Regions from separate parts of the Homo sapiens genome. Here region 2 is linked to region 1. Evidence: promoter capture Hi-C in 16 types of primary human blood cells and fetal thymus (Javierre and others, 2016). All regions are on one chromosome and are shown on one strand. The core of a region is centred on a gene start or on the middle of the fragment in contact, and the rest is flanking DNA. Distances in the headings are between cores, read along the strand shown. Region 1 holds the start of ARHGAP31 (Rho GTPase activating protein 31). Region 2 has its middle 7.9 kb from the start of COX17.

Evidence for each region. The method cuts DNA at HindIII sites, captures the fragments that hold promoters and counts their contacts. A CHiCAGO score of 5 or more calls a contact.
Region 2: a fragment that was not itself captured here is called in contact with the fragment with the promoter of ARHGAP31 in region 1 in 12 of 17 cell types (megakaryocytes, naive B cells, M0 macrophages and 9 more); the score reaches 11.5 in megakaryocytes.

The regions. Positions count from the first base shown.
Region 1 is chr3:119,290,396-119,297,856 of GRCh38, reverse strand. It overlaps ARHGAP31 (Rho GTPase activating protein 31), which reads right to left and starts at 3,474. Exons shown (of 12, transcript NM_020754.4): 1 at 2,853-3,474. The coding sequence starts at 2,952. It overlaps B4GALT4-AS1 (B4GALT4 antisense RNA 1), which reads right to left. Exons shown (of 4, transcript NR_046574.1): 4 at 7,191-7,216. RefSeq lists enhancers at 73-142, 4,002-4,051 and a silencer at 3,042-3,161. The HindIII fragment of the contact is 3,332 bases long and covers 1,888-5,219 here.
Region 2 is chr3:119,681,588-119,689,048 of GRCh38, reverse strand. No RefSeq gene overlaps it. Among named protein-coding and RNA genes, the nearest start is that of COX17, 7.9 kb to the right of the region's middle. The HindIII fragment of the contact is 1,303 bases long and covers 3,735-5,037 here.

The DNA.
Region 1 (7,461 bases), core at 2,225-4,724:
AACTGGCCCTGAGCAATGTCTGCCCTAAGCTGAACACCTATTTGTAAACCACACACCCAGCCTTGTCAGGTTTGTCCAGCTGAAAGTAGCAGGGCTGAGCCTCAGCAAATTACAGAAGCATATGACATTCATTCTGTCTTCAGCCTTTGTCTCTCCAAAGTTCCCACTCAAGCATGTGGCGTCCCCATGTTCAGATGCCCTGAGCATAGCTCATCATCACCCCGCTTTGTCCTCCACTCCAACTCAAGGCTTTCCTTCCCTGTCCAAAGACAGGAGCTCTCTTTGCCTCCCTAAATCTTTGGTCTTCTCCCCTTGTACTCCCAAACCTGAACCTATCTTTCCTCTCAATGCAGGTCTACTGCACCACCTTTGACCTTCAAAGTTCAGTAACCATGATGTCAGTCCAGGGAGCCCTTCTCCAGCCCCCTGGCTCCCAGTTACCACACTGACTTGTCACCCTCAGCATTCTGGGCTGATCTTCCAAGGTGGTGGGCAGAGGGCCAGTTCCCAGCTCAGCTTTTCCTCCCAGAAGCAGAGTCCAGGCCTTGTCTATGAATCAATACATGTTTGGGAGAGTCCACAAAGAAGCAACATTACTTTAGAGAAAACCATTAGCACTGACTTTGTTCATTGATGCTACACTATCACAAATACACAGAAAAAAACCATCCAACTAGTTTTAGCTGAGGGAAAAAATAAATTCTAATTACTCTTATTTCCATAAGCAGTATATTATGCATGTCTAATTTCCGTGTAGCACAATAACAGTGTGTGGATCATTAAGTGGGTCAGTTGCGTTTCCTTTCAAAGCTGAACTCTCATCAGGTATGTTCAGTCTTCAAAGTTTGCTGATCCTGTAGCAGGGCTGTCTGCTTTCAATTTAGGGGGAAAATATCATTAGAAGAGAATGTTGGCTTAGACACAGAAGCCAGGGAGGGCAGAGGAACCTAACAGGCCAGGGAGGGCCCTCCGATCCTTCATGATTAGCTGTACAACCTCAGGCAGGCCAATTTACCCCTCTGGGCTTCTTTTCCCCCTCCCCAGGGTGGGGAACCCGGGGTACTGGTTTGCCATTCTTTTAAGCAGTAGTCTCTGTTTTTTTTTGTCTAAATGAAACATATGCAGAAGCCCAAAATATAAAGCAGGTGAAAGAACAGCTGCCTAAAGCTGCCTTTGACATATCTTCATAGAACCCTGGGGTTCTGGCTCATCCTATAATCTATTAGTTTGTAAGAACGAACAGGGCTGGCAAGCACCCCTATGCAACTCTCACAGATTTGAGGGAGGGGCCAGAATAACACCCGCATGGTGAAAGGTGGCATCCCAGGAGCATTCCTAGTGTACCTGGAGGTTAACTTGAAGGCCCCTGCAAAAATAGGTGAAGAGGAACCTTTCATTGTAAACTTCTGACGATAGTGGTTAAGAGGCATACTTGGAGTTTTCTCACACTCAAAAAAACTCAAACCAAGTGATTTTTATCTCAAATCTACCTCTCCAGATGGTTGGTGAGGATTCAATGAAGTGTTAAGTTATGCATCAATTTCAAAAGAGTCAGTTTTGAAACCTGTGGTTCTCCAAGCTCTAAAATCCTAAGCTATTTGTCCTAATGACACAGCAGACTGAACTCTAGAATACCACAGGAATATCACACCACTGCAAATTACTAGGTGGTGCTGAGTCTCCCAAAACACAGAAGTGAAACAAAAGCATTGCACTGTTTTTGAAATGCATATTCGATATGGACTAATCAAATAGGTTTTGAGATTATTTTCCTGGAGGCAGAATTATTCCGCACGGTTACACAGCCCTTAGTTTTCCCCTTTGTTGTATCTATCTATGTATAAACACATGGCCTATATAGTAGGCTATTTTCCTCTCGCTGAAGCTTCTGAAGACAAGGCCTTTTTGTCAAGGGTAAGTGCAAAACCAGTCAACCTTACAAAAGGAGTCATTTAATGCTCAATTTTCCAACTTTCCTATGATTAAACACTTCTAAGCTCAAACGCTGTTATTGTAATCTAGATGGTGTTTTCTTTCCCCCTTCCCCAACAAATGTTTAAATTGTCTCCGCTGGATTCCCCCATCCCCAACTCCCCCCTACCCCCATCTGACCTTGAAAACAGAGAAGTTTTCCTTTTCTCTACTTACCCTAAACTATTTAAAAATGGAGGCCCTCTGACCTTTTTACAACACTCTTCTTGTCTGACACACCAAATGTTAATCTGAAAGCCAAGAGGAGGGAAAAGGTCTTGCAGGGCGGGGAGGGGGTTGTGGAAAGGGGGTGGAGGTACTATATATTTGGCATCAGCTCAGAAATTCAGAAATGTTTGTGCAACCACTCCCCCAGCCAGGATCCTCCCCCACCCCCCACCCGCAACTGCCTTCTAACACATTAATAAAAAAAGATGTGAGCAGACGAAATTGGAGAGCCCAGGAGGGACAGCTAAGGCGGTCATGATTTTGTACCCAGGCAAGACCACTGATCACCATCCCACATGTCCACCCCTCCTCCCTCCCTTCCAACGTGCCAAGTTTAGGATTGGGACCTCTGCAGCTTCCACCCCCATCCCCTGAGGTGGCCCGGTAAACTTGCGGCAGTACCACCCATTAACAGCTTGTGTGAGGCAAACGGAAGGACTGACACAGCAGCCTCTGCGCGTCGGGACAGCAGCGCTGTGCACCTTAAGAATCGTTTATGTTCTTTAAAAAAAAAAAAGAAAAAAAAGTGCAATGAGCGCACAGGCCTGGAATACATTAACTTGTGAACCGACTCTATCACAACTCGAGAGAGTCCGTCTCTCCCTCAAACAAAAAGAAGGTGGGGGCGGGGGAGAAAGGCCAAGGCACATTACCATCCTGTCCCGAGCTTTCCAGATACTCCGTCAGGTCACAGCCAAACGCGCTGGCGGCTCCCTTTCGTTTCAGCTTCTGCTTAGCACCCTTGTTCTTCATGAGTTAGTCCCAAAGAGGCTGCCCCTCCGTCTCTGCCGCCCCTCTGCTTGGCACCGCTGTAAGATGGGCTCCCGGGCTAGATCACCGGCTGCCCCGCGGCTCTGGGGGGCCGCATCGGAAGATGGAAGAACTTGGGCTGGGGGCCCTGCGCATGGACCCCGCGGGCCGCGGGCCGGCAGAGCCTGAGATCCACCCCGCGCCGCTCCGGGGCCGCCGTGCCGAGGCCGTGCAGACTGGCAGCCGCGGGCCGGCTCGCCTGGGAGTGTCACTTCCTCACTTGGAGTCCTAGGGACTTTCACAGGCTCCTGCGGTGTCTTCGGGTGTTTCTCCTCAGCTTAAGAGGGAGGGCAAGCTCTCCCCACCCCTTACTAAGTGCCCCGGAGACGACGCGGACGCGGGGCGAGGAGACTGCCCAGGGGGCTGCGGTGGGTCCTGCGCCCTGGGCCCGCTGTCTCGCCTTCAGACGACTTTGGTAGAGCGAAAAACAAGCATCCTGTCGCTGCTGCCCGCCCTCACGCCTTCCTTTTTTTCCTGTCTTACAAATCCTAGGATCATCCAGCTCAGGAAATGCTGGAAGGAAGTTAGCTAGGGAGGGGGGCGGTGGGTGGAAATTTTTGGCAGCTCGGTGCTTGTGAGTGTGTGGAGCTAGAGGAAGTAGGTGGGTGGGTTGAGGAGCACGGGGTTGGGGTAGAGAACGCGTTCTCCCGAGAGCAGTTCTGCGACTCCAGAGATAACTGGGCAGCCCCGGAGGAAATCGCGCTCTTCTCGCAGGACCCGCAGCCGCAGCCGCCGCTTCCTGCCCCGCCGAGCCGGCTCTTTGAAGTGGCGGGAGGAGGTGCGCTGGCATTCTGCGGGGACCGTGCTGGTTGGGACTTTCAGAACCCTCTGCCCTGGTTTTATCCTCATTGTCATCGTATCTTTGACACTTTCTATTTCGGTGCCCGCCTGTCTGCTACGCAAATACTTAAAGAGTAATGACAGAGACAAACAGGGGACTCCAGCGGAGAAACCTGACAGGCAGTGGCTTCACGCCGGCCACTCCCATCCCAACCTCCTCTGCAGCGTTCGTGCACCCCCACCTCAGCTCACTCCCCTCCCACTCTGGGGTAAAGATACCCCTGGGCAAAGAGAGGCTGCAGCTTTGTAACCACTGCCCAGGAAATCAGATTTCTGGTTACATATTCAAGACACACACACACACTACTGCAAAGTTTTCTAAATGGAAGTGATTTGGGGGGGACAAACCAGGATTTAAGATGCCTCTGACACATGAAATGTGAAGAAAGCAGTCTCCCAGGTTCTTTCATAATTTGTTTCAAGTTGTTTCAAGAGGGCATGTTTTTTTCTTCTCCAGTTAGATTTTAAATTCTTTAACTTCTGTGTACTCAGCACACAGAAAGCACTCAAATTCTTGTGATTTAACCATTTGAGGATTAGATGAAACTTCCTGTATAAATTCAAATCCATATACAGGCTTGAAGGATAGGGGCATATGTCATACAGCTCAGATTGCTGGCAAAGCTGCATCCGTAGCATTTTAGGTACTGAATCCCTTTACAGTCACTGTCTCTCTATGTAACCTTAACAGTCTATGAACTTTGACCCTTGACATTTTCTCTATGTCAGAGGTCACAACTTGATAGCCACCCTGCCAGATCTGGCCCATAGATGTACTTGGCTGGCAGACACCATGCTTTAACACGTTTTAAAATTAGTAGCTAGCATTAAAAAGTTAAGAGATTTCACATAAAATCTGAATTTCTGGCTTCTCTTGAAAAAATGGAAGATCTAGTTACACCACAAGTGCATTCCCATATGGCAAGGACGGCTGATGCTGAGTTGTGGCAGGCCCCTTGGAGGCACCCTCTTTAGAGAGACGACTCTTGCAGTTTTGCAGACCCCACGGCCTGTCTTCCCCCTTTTGCACCTGCCTGGCCTCTGCTGCCACTTGAGTTTGCAGCCCAACCTCTATGAATTGTCTTTCCTGTTTTTCATTTTCCATCTCTCAGTGACACTGAGAAGCATTTGCCCCAGTCATCTTGGTGAAATGTCTTCAAGTAACCACAGACTCATTTGTCTCCTTCCTCTCCCACCTGCAAGGTAGTCCCGCCCAGACGATGAGCTCTTCACCATGCCTCTCAGCTTGGTTTATTCCTTTCCAGGCCCACTCAGTGAGGACCATCCACTCCTCAATTATTAAAGTAACTCCTAGTGGGATTTGTTGAGTCCAATCTCCTCCACTTCCTCCATCCTATGTATTAAAAGCTTGAGGAGTCATCTTGAAGGATTGCTGTTGTTATATGCCTGCCTGCCTTGCTGAAAACCTTTCAATAGCTCCCCAGTCCTACTTTTAGGGCAGCAATTTCTAAGCATTTTGTAAACTGCTTGGAGAGTATCTGATAAGGTATTTGGTACAATGGCTTGTTCCTCCCTTTATTTATAGAGAAGCAGCTCCATATGGGACTATAATGATCACTATTAGCATTTGCTTAGCAGTTTACTTCAGCAAGGACTTTTGCATTCATTCTTTCATCTGACTTACGTGGATTTCATCATCTTGTCAGCAAAAGAGAGAGGCTGAAAGAGCCCCTTTTCTGAGTGCAAATAATGGAGAAATTGCCAAGCCCTGTTAATTACCTTTTTAAATATTTCAAAACTTCCTTTTAATGTTTCACTTTCAAGTAATTCCAGCTTATAAATAATTTACAGGCCGGGCGCAGTGGTTCACGCCTGTAATCCCAGCACTTTCGGAGGCCGAGGCGGGCAATCACGAGGTCAGGAGATCGAGACCATCATGGCTAACGCGGTGAAACCCCGTCTCTACTAAAAATACAAAAAAATTAGCCGGGCATGGTGGTGTCGGGCGCCTGCAGTCCCAGCTACTCGGGAGGCTGAGGCAGGAGAATGGTGTGAACCCGGGAGGCGGAGCTTGCAGTGAGCCGAGATGGTGCCACTGCACTCCAGCTTGGGTGACAGAGCGAGACTCCGTCTCAAAAAAAAAAAAATTTACAAAAAAATAGTCAAGGAATTCCCATATACCTTTCACCCAACTTCCCCAAATATTAATATCTTATACAATGAGAGTATAGTTATCAAAATTAGAAAGTTTATATTGATACAATAATATTAATCAATCAACAGACTTTATTCAAGTCTGAATTAATTTTTAAATTACATACAATTTTTATTAAATATGGTCTTTCTCATAATGAAGGCTATCAGTTAAGCATGCAAACGATAATTTACAAGTAATTCTCAAAATACTTCAAAAATACTTCATAGTATAACTTTAGCTATGTACAAAATCCCCATAATCACCATCAAACCCGGCAGTTGTAGTTTGTTGAAAAACAGGGCTGTCTAGGTGAAGCAGTGAGGCCAGTTAGTGACCTTAACATAGCCCTGAGATTCTTCTATGCTTTACTTAGAATTTCCCCGAATGCCTCTGGCATCATAGGATTTTCAACCTGGAATGGCCTGATGGACGTTTTGATCCCTGCTTCATGTTAAGTTGGGTTCAAGTTTGTAAGAGTTCAAGATGGAGGTAATACTGAGCACCTAGCAAAGTGTTTATTATTCCTGTGCTGATTAAACAAACCTTATCTGAAATGTACACGTGATATGCATTTCAAGGTTATCTTGATGATAACTCAGTTATTCACACCAAATGGTGGGATGAGTTCACAATATTTCAACCGAGATAATGAAGTCACATGGTGACAACCTGATTTGGGGAGTTGGAAAGCTGTCCCCCTCCCCATTTGTTTTCTGCCCCCTCTTAATGTTGAGTATGTCCTGCGATAGATGCCAAACTTGAATCTAGTGCTTGTTTTAGATTTTTTTTTTTTCCAATTTTTCTTTCTCTTTTCTTCCTCTACATATCTCTTTCTCTTCCCATTTTTTTTTCTTTCTCCTTGCTTATTCTAAGCAGAGTCTTTTCTGGGGCTATAGAAGAAAATCTGATTTGGTTCCAAAATCTGATTTCTGTTTGGCTGAGCATTACCTAAGAAACAAGCTGGTATGGAGATAATGTAGGAATGTTAACAGAAAGACTAATTGAGAAGCCATTTGGTGATCATATAAATTATGCCTTTAGCAGACTGTCATGGTGCAATTTACTGGAAAAGCTCTTTGCTCACACAGAGATACCTCAGAATTCTGTTGCTGCCTATGATCCCTCTTACCTGCACTTATTGAGGACTGATGCCTGTCAACATGAGCTATCTGTTTCCTTCATCACCAAGGATGGTAACAACCTTCTCTCCTGTAAATAAAGAGATGTAGAAAAGCAAGATGACTGACTTAGAGATATGCCTGGCATTCATCCCCCTGAAAATAAAGGACCAAGGCAACAAATAAACAGCTAAGATTTTACTGAAGTGTCAAAAGCAGAGTGCTGGAGTGCAGTAGGGGAGTGGCGATGGACCTGTGGTGATTGGAAGTCCAGGAAGGCAGCATGAAGACACAGAGCCTTTGCATCCCCATCTCTTTTGCCCAAATCTGATCAAC
Region 2 (7,461 bases), core at 3,137-5,636, 390 kb before region 1:
CAAAATTATTTCCCCCTTTAGGGATAAAGAGATGCCAACATGACATATATTTTTTTTAAATCTCATCCCAATAAGTTAGCTGGAGCAGATTCTGCTAGTAAAAAAGGATAGGTATCTTGTAAAAACCCAAGGCAAAAAGCAATGGGCTGAGCTTGAAATGCCATCAGTGGTTTATTAGAAACTCCTACTATTTGAATAATTTTATAACTCCAAGGCAAGGCCTGGCTTAGGTTGGTGGGATTGAGTACTGATAGGGTTGCTTCTGTGTCAATGAGAACAGGTAGGACCTCATTGCCAAGGAGGTTGAGGGGAAGAATTGGAAAAAGCCCCTGTATATTTTTGGATCCCTTTCATTAGGAGGCAGGAGTCAAAGGGCTAAATGAAGAAGACTATTTAGATTGGTTAAATTTATAACAGTTTTTCTTGCTGTGGCCAGGTTGTTTACAATAATGACGGATGCCAGGAGGTGAGTTTCATGAATTAGAGGAGTGGTGCCATTCAGAGCCCTAATTGTTTTCTCTGGGACCTTTCATTTGTTGTAATTGGAGGTTTGGGATTTTTGTAGTCTTCTTTTTATTGGTATCCTCTAGGGTGCTATCTAATTGATTTGCCAAATTAACAAGGTAAAGGATTGGCATGGGTTTTCATTCCCTGCAAGCTTTTTTTACTAACTGAGTAAATTGTTAGGAGAGACCATTAACAAACATAAAGTTAAAGGCAACTCTAGTAGAGTCAATGTCCATGGGAAGGCCAGAATTCTCTTTAAATACAATCTGGAGTCTGTTATAATAGTTATGAACTGGTTCGTTTGGTTCTTGGGTACATGCTTGAATTTTATTCTAGTCAATGGCTTTACGGAATGCTTTGGGGATGGCCCTATATAAACTTTTTGCAAGTTACCGTTCCTGCTCCCAATATTATAAGCTAGTTTATAGGGAGATGAGGAGGGGTCTTTCTAAATTCTGTTAGGGGTGTGATATGGTTTGGCTCTGTGTCCCCACCCAAATCTCATCTTGAATTGTAGTCCCATAATTCCCATGTGTTGTGGGAGGGAGCTGGTGGGAGATAATTAAATCGTGGGGGAAGTTTCCCCCGTACTGTTCTTGTGGTAGTGAATAAGTCTCATAAGATCTGATGGTTTTATCAGGGGTTTCTGCTTTTGCATCTTCCTCATTCTCTCTTTTCCTGCAGCCATCCATGTAAGATGGGACTTGCTCCTCCTTGCCCTCCACCATGATTGTGAGGCTTCCCCAGCCATGTGGAACTGTAAGCCCAATTAAACCTCTTTCTTTTGTAAATTGTCCCTTCTTGGGTATGTCTTTATCAGAAGCATGAAAATGGACTAATATAGTAAATTGGTACCAGGGTGAGATACTGCTGAGAAGATACCTGAAAATGTGGAAGCAACTTTGGAACTGGGTAACAGGCAGAGATTGGAACAGTTTGGAGGGCTCAGAAGACAGGAAAATGTGGAAAAGTTGGGAACTTCCTGGATACTTGTTGAATGGCTTTTCCCAAAATGCTGATAGCAATATGGACAATAAGATCCAGATTCAGGTGGTCTCAGATGGAGGTGAGGAACTTGTTGGGAACTGGAGTAAAGGTGATTCTTGTTATATTTTAGCAAAGACACTGGTGGCATTTTGCCCCTGCCTTAGAGATTTGTGGAACTTTGAACTTGAGAGAGATGATTTAGGGTGTCTGGTGGAAGAAACTTCTAAGCAGCAAAGCATTCAAGATGTGACTTGGGTGCTGTTAAAGGCATTCAGTTTTAAAGGAGAAACAGAGCATAAAAGTTTGAAAAATTTGCAGCCTGACAATGCAATAGGAAAGAAAATACCATTTTCTGAAAAGAAATTCAAGCCAACGACAGAAATTTGCCTAAGTAACCAGGAGCCAAATGTTAATTCCCAAGACAATGGAGAAAATGTCTCCAGGGCATGTCAGAGGTCTTCATGGCAGCCACTCTCATCACAGGCTTGGAGGCCTAGGAGGATAAAGTGGTTTCATGGGCTGGGTCCAGGGTCCCCAAGCTGTGTGCAACCTAGGGACTTGGTGCCCTGCATCCCAGCCACTCCAGCCATGGCTGAAAGGGCCAACATAGAGCTCAGGCCATGGCTTCAGATGGCCAACCCCAAGTCTTGGCAGCTTCCATGTGGTGTTGAGCCTGAGGGTGCACAGAAGTCAAGAATTGAGGTTTGGGAACCTTTACCTAGATTTCAGAATATGTATGGAAATGCCTGGAAGCCCAGGCAGAAGTTTGCTGCAGGGGCAGGGGTCTCATGGAGAACCTCTGCTAGGGCAATGCAGAAGGGAAAGGTGGGGTTGGAGCCCCTACACCTACTGGGGCACTGCTTAGGGCATTGCTTAGTGGAGCTGTGAGAGGAGGGCCACTGTCCTCCAGATCCTAGAATTGTAGATCTACCGACAACTTGCACCATGCACCTGGAAAAGCCGCAGACACTCAACACCAGCCCATGAAAGTAGCCGGGAGGGAGGTTGTAATCTGCAAAGCCACAGGGGTGGAGCTGCCCAAGACCATGGGAACCTACCTCTTGCATCAGCATGACCTGGATATGAGACATGGAGTCAAAGGAGATCATTCTGGAGCTTTAAGATTTGACTGCCCCACTGGATTTCAAACTTGCATGGGCCCTGTAGTCCTTTTGTTTTGGCCAATTTCTCCTATTTGGAATAGGTGTATTTACCCAATGTCTGTATTCCCATTGTTTCTAGGAAATAACTAACTTGCTTTTGATTTTACAGGCTCATAGGCAGAAGGGACTTGCATTGTCTCAGATGAGACTTTGGACCATGGCCTTTTGAGTTAAAGATGAAATGAGTTAAGACTTTGGGGGACTCCTGGGAAGGCATGATTGGTTTTGAAATGTGAGGATATGAGATTTGACAAGGGCCAGGGGCAAAATGATATAATTTGGCTCTGTGTCCCCACCCAAATCTCATCTTGAATTATACTTCCATAATTCCCACATGTTGTGGAGGGACCCAGTGGGAGACAATTGAATCACGGGGATGGTTTCCCCCATACTGTTCTTGTGGTAGAGAATAAGTCTCACAAGATCTGATGGTTTTATCAGGGGTTTCCACTTTTGCATCTTCCTCATTCTCTTTGCCTGCTGCCATCCATGTAAGATGGGTCTTGCTCCTCCTTGCCTTCCACCATGATTGTGAGGCTTCCCCAGCCATGTGGAACTGTAAGGCCAAAGGCCAATTAAACCTCTTTCTTTTGTAAATTGCCCCTTCTTGGGTATGTCTTTATCAGCAGCATGAAAACAGACTAATACAGGGTGTGTGCAATTGACCTTTTTCTTCTTTCTTTCCTTTTTTTTTTTTTTTTTTTAAGGCAGGGTCTCACTTTATCACCCAGGCTGGAGTGCAATGGAGTGACCTCGGCTCACTGCAACCTCCGCCTCCTGGGTTCAAATGACTCTCCCTCAGCTTCCTGAGTAGCTGAGATTATAGATGTGTGCCACCAGGCCTGGCTAATTTTTGTATTTTTAGTAGAGACGGAGTTTCGCCCTGTTGGCCAGGCTGGTCTCGATCTCCTGACCTCAGGTAATCTGCCCACCTCAGCCTCCCAAATTGTGGGGATTACAGGCGTGAGCCACCATACCCAGCCACAACTGACCTTTTTCATCCAGTGATTAGCCTGGCTTTCTCCCACAAGCATGTGGACAAGTTGATTAAGATCAGAGAAGCTGGGCTAGTAAGCTTCAATTGTAATGTTAAATTCATCAGCAAAGCAAAGAGGGTCCTGGGTAACTTTAGGAAATTCCTTGGCTTTAACATGGATTTCAGCCTTATTCCAAGGGCATAGACAATCTAAGGAACCTCAGGATTGTTAGTGGGTCTAACCCTACAGGGACAAGTTTTTATAGGTTGAGGATGGGGATCAGAAGCTGGGAGGGTAGTAGGGGAGGAAGTATCAGGATTGAGTGGGGTTTTCAGAAAGGGAAGGGTAGAGAGGAGAGAGAGGTGGTGGTACCAGGGGAGCAGAAAAACTCTGAGTTTCTAAGGCCTTTTAAAATCTTCCTTTCGTTGTTTATCTGTCTTAGTTAACTTAGTGATGGTATTTTGGAGTTAGGTGATTTTTGAGGCTTGAATACATTTAGATGCTTCAAGATACCACTTAAAGTTTATGCTCCTTTCAGGCAATTTAATTTTGTAGCCATGGCCTTCTAATTTAGTTCTAAGAAAACAAGTTAGGGAGTTCAAGAGATGGCCATTGTAATTCCAAATTTTCTTTAGTGTAATTGGTCCATTGCGATAAAAAAAGAATAGGAAGATGGACCATAATAATTAAGCATATAACAAGCTAGAGTCCCCAATGTTGGGGGGCTATTTTGGTATATCTTTGAATTTGGGGAGTTCATTTGTAAATAAACATATCCAAGTGAGTCAGTGCAAAGCCAAACACACAAAAGCCAAAATAAAAATCAAGCACACAAAATGAACCAAAGAGTAAAGTACATACTCACCGGGAAGAATGACAAAGCCTTCTTCAAATCCCTTACAAATAGAGGCCTAATAAATAGGAGAGGAAAGGCCCTTCATAAAGAAATCCCAAATAAAGCTGAAGAACTCAAATCCAAAAAAAAAAAAAAAAAAAAAAGGGGTGTTTAACCCAAGAAAGACTCACTGGGGTGAAAAAAGATCACCAGCGGAAGTAGGGGGCTCAAGGGGTCTGACAGTGAGTACTGCACACCATAGTTCCAGGGGCCATTATCTTTCCAAGTGAATCTGCTTTGCATCTCACTTCTGACACCATGTAATGTCAATAACAGATAGAGACTAATCTCCAAGCAAAAAGAGTTTATTTTGAAATAAACAAAGAAATAGGATTGCAATCTGGGACAAACATACAAACTGAAGTGGTCTCCAATATATTCAAAAAAAAAAAAGGAAATGGTTGAGGTTTCATTGGGAAAAGAGAAAGGTTATTGGTGCTTGTGGCATTTTGCAGGAGCTGGCAAGCTCTGATTGCTGGGTGGCAAAAGTTACTAGGTAAAACAAGCTTTGAAGTCATGGCAGCCATTTGTTGTCAAACTAGTCTTAAAATTGTAGCAGCTGTTTCATTGGATTGGGCTTGTGGGACAGTTTCTGGAGCAGGCTTTTGAGACCTGAGTGTTTTTTCACCCCTATGGTCCTCTAACTCTAAATTTTAGTTGGGTATAACAGGAATGACTCCATTTGTATAATCAATTTTTCACTTTAGATAATCGACCTGTGGTAGACAGATTCTTAAGGTGGCCCCTGGATCCTGACCTCCTGGTGTTCATGTTCTCATGTGATCCCCTCTTTTCAAGTATTTTAGCCAATAGAATATGCCAAATATGATATGATAGATGTAATTACATGGTTCTCTTACATAAGACTGTAATGCCCATATTTCTGGGTGGCTCTCTATCCCTTGCTGGCTTTGAGGAAGTAAGTGACCATGTTGGGAACCCTATTTGGCAAGGAACTACAGGAGGCCTCTAGGAGCTGAGGGTAGCCTCCAACTGATAGCCAGCAAGAAACCAAAGCCTTTAGTCCTACAATAGCAAGAAACTGAATTCTGTCAACAACATAAGATTGGAAGCATATTCTTCCCCAGTAGAACCACAGATGAGACCACAGTCTCAGCTGAAAGCTTGATTCAAGTCTTGTAAGACCCTAATCAAAGAAGTCACTTAAGTAATGCCCTTGACTACAGAAACTGTGAGATAATAAATATGTATTACCACCAGGTATGTGGTAATATTGTTATACAGCTGTATTAGTCTCCTTGGGTTGCAATAACAAAATACCATAGACTGGGTGGCTTAAGCAACAGATATTTATTTTTCACAGTTCTGGAAGCTGGGAAGTCCTAGATCAAGGTGCCGGTCAATTCAGTACCTGGCAAGGATCCTGGCTTTACTTCTGACTTGCAGAGTGCTGCCTTCTTGTTGTATCCACACATGGGTACAACAAAAGGACTCTGGTCTCTTCCTCTTGTTATAAGGGTACTAATACCATCATGGGGGCTCCATCTTCATGACATCATCTAAACCTACTTGTCTCCCAAAGGCTCCATCTTCAAATATCATCACACTGGGGATTACGGTTTCAGTATATAAATTATGGCAGGACACAAACATTCAGTCCATAGTAATAGCAATAAATCACTAATACACAACCTTCGTGAAATCAGGTCATGTCATTTAGGTTACTTGTATTAAAATAACTTTGATATTGGAAAGGGATGTTAGTTCATAAAATTTAATTAAAACGAAGTACATAGTAATGTTGGGAGATAATTCTCCATGGGTGCACATGTTTCTGCGTGTCTTTTTTTTTTTCTTGAGATGGAGTCTCGCTCTGTCGCCAGGCTGGAGTGCAGTGGTGTGATCTCGGCTCACTGCAATCTCCGCGTCCCAGGTTCAAGTGATTCTCCTGCCTCAGCCTCCCAAGTAGCTGGGACTACAGGCATGTGCCACCATGCCCAGCTAATTTTGGTATTTTTAGTAGAGATGGGGTTTCACCATGTTGGCCAGGATAGTCTCGATCTCTTGACCTCGTGATCTGCTCACCTTGGCCTCCCAAAGTGCTGGGATTACAGGTGTGAGCCACCGTGCCCGGCCTTCTGCATGTCTTTCAAGGGGTGGCACTGTTTGCCTTTGTTCCTTTGTGTAGGAAACAACCTTGGAAGACAAAGGTAGTGTCTACTTTGGGAGCAAAAGTCAGACATTTTTACTGCCCACAACTAAAGATTTGAGTTTCCTAAGCTCACTGTTCCTTTCCTGTAATTCAACCCAGTGCATATGTGGATATCATCTGGCTTTCTTCACATCACCCTGTGGGACTTGGAACTCAGGGAACTGGCATAAAAATGCTGATATTCTGCTGCTGCTATTGCTATAAGTAATAAATTGTCCTTCATCTGTGACCTAGCTGCTTGGAGGCTTCTACCAATAATATGGTTTGGCTGTGTCCCCACTGAAAATCTCATCTTGAATTGTAATCCCTATGTGTCAAGGGTGGAACCAGGTGGAGGTAACTGGATCATGGGGGCAGTTTCTCCCATGCTGTTCTTGTGATAGTGAGTGAGTCTCACATGATCTGATGGTTTTATAAGTGGCATTTCCCCTGTTGGCACTCACTCCGTCCTACCATCTTGTAAAGAAGGTCCCTGCTTCTCATTTGCCTTCCACCATGATTGTAAGTCTCCTGGAGCCTCCCTAGCAATGCAGAACTGTGAGTCAATTAAACCTCTTTCCTTTATATTACCCAGTCTTGGGTATTTCTTTATAGCAGCATGAGAACAGACTAATACAACCAACATTCATAAAACTGTGGCAGGCAATTTGAATAAAATTGCAGCTATAAAGAACGATGTACAGTACATATTTACCTGTGGAAATTGGAAAGCATTTTTTCCTTTGCAGGGGCAGATATAAGGACAAAAATTACCTTACT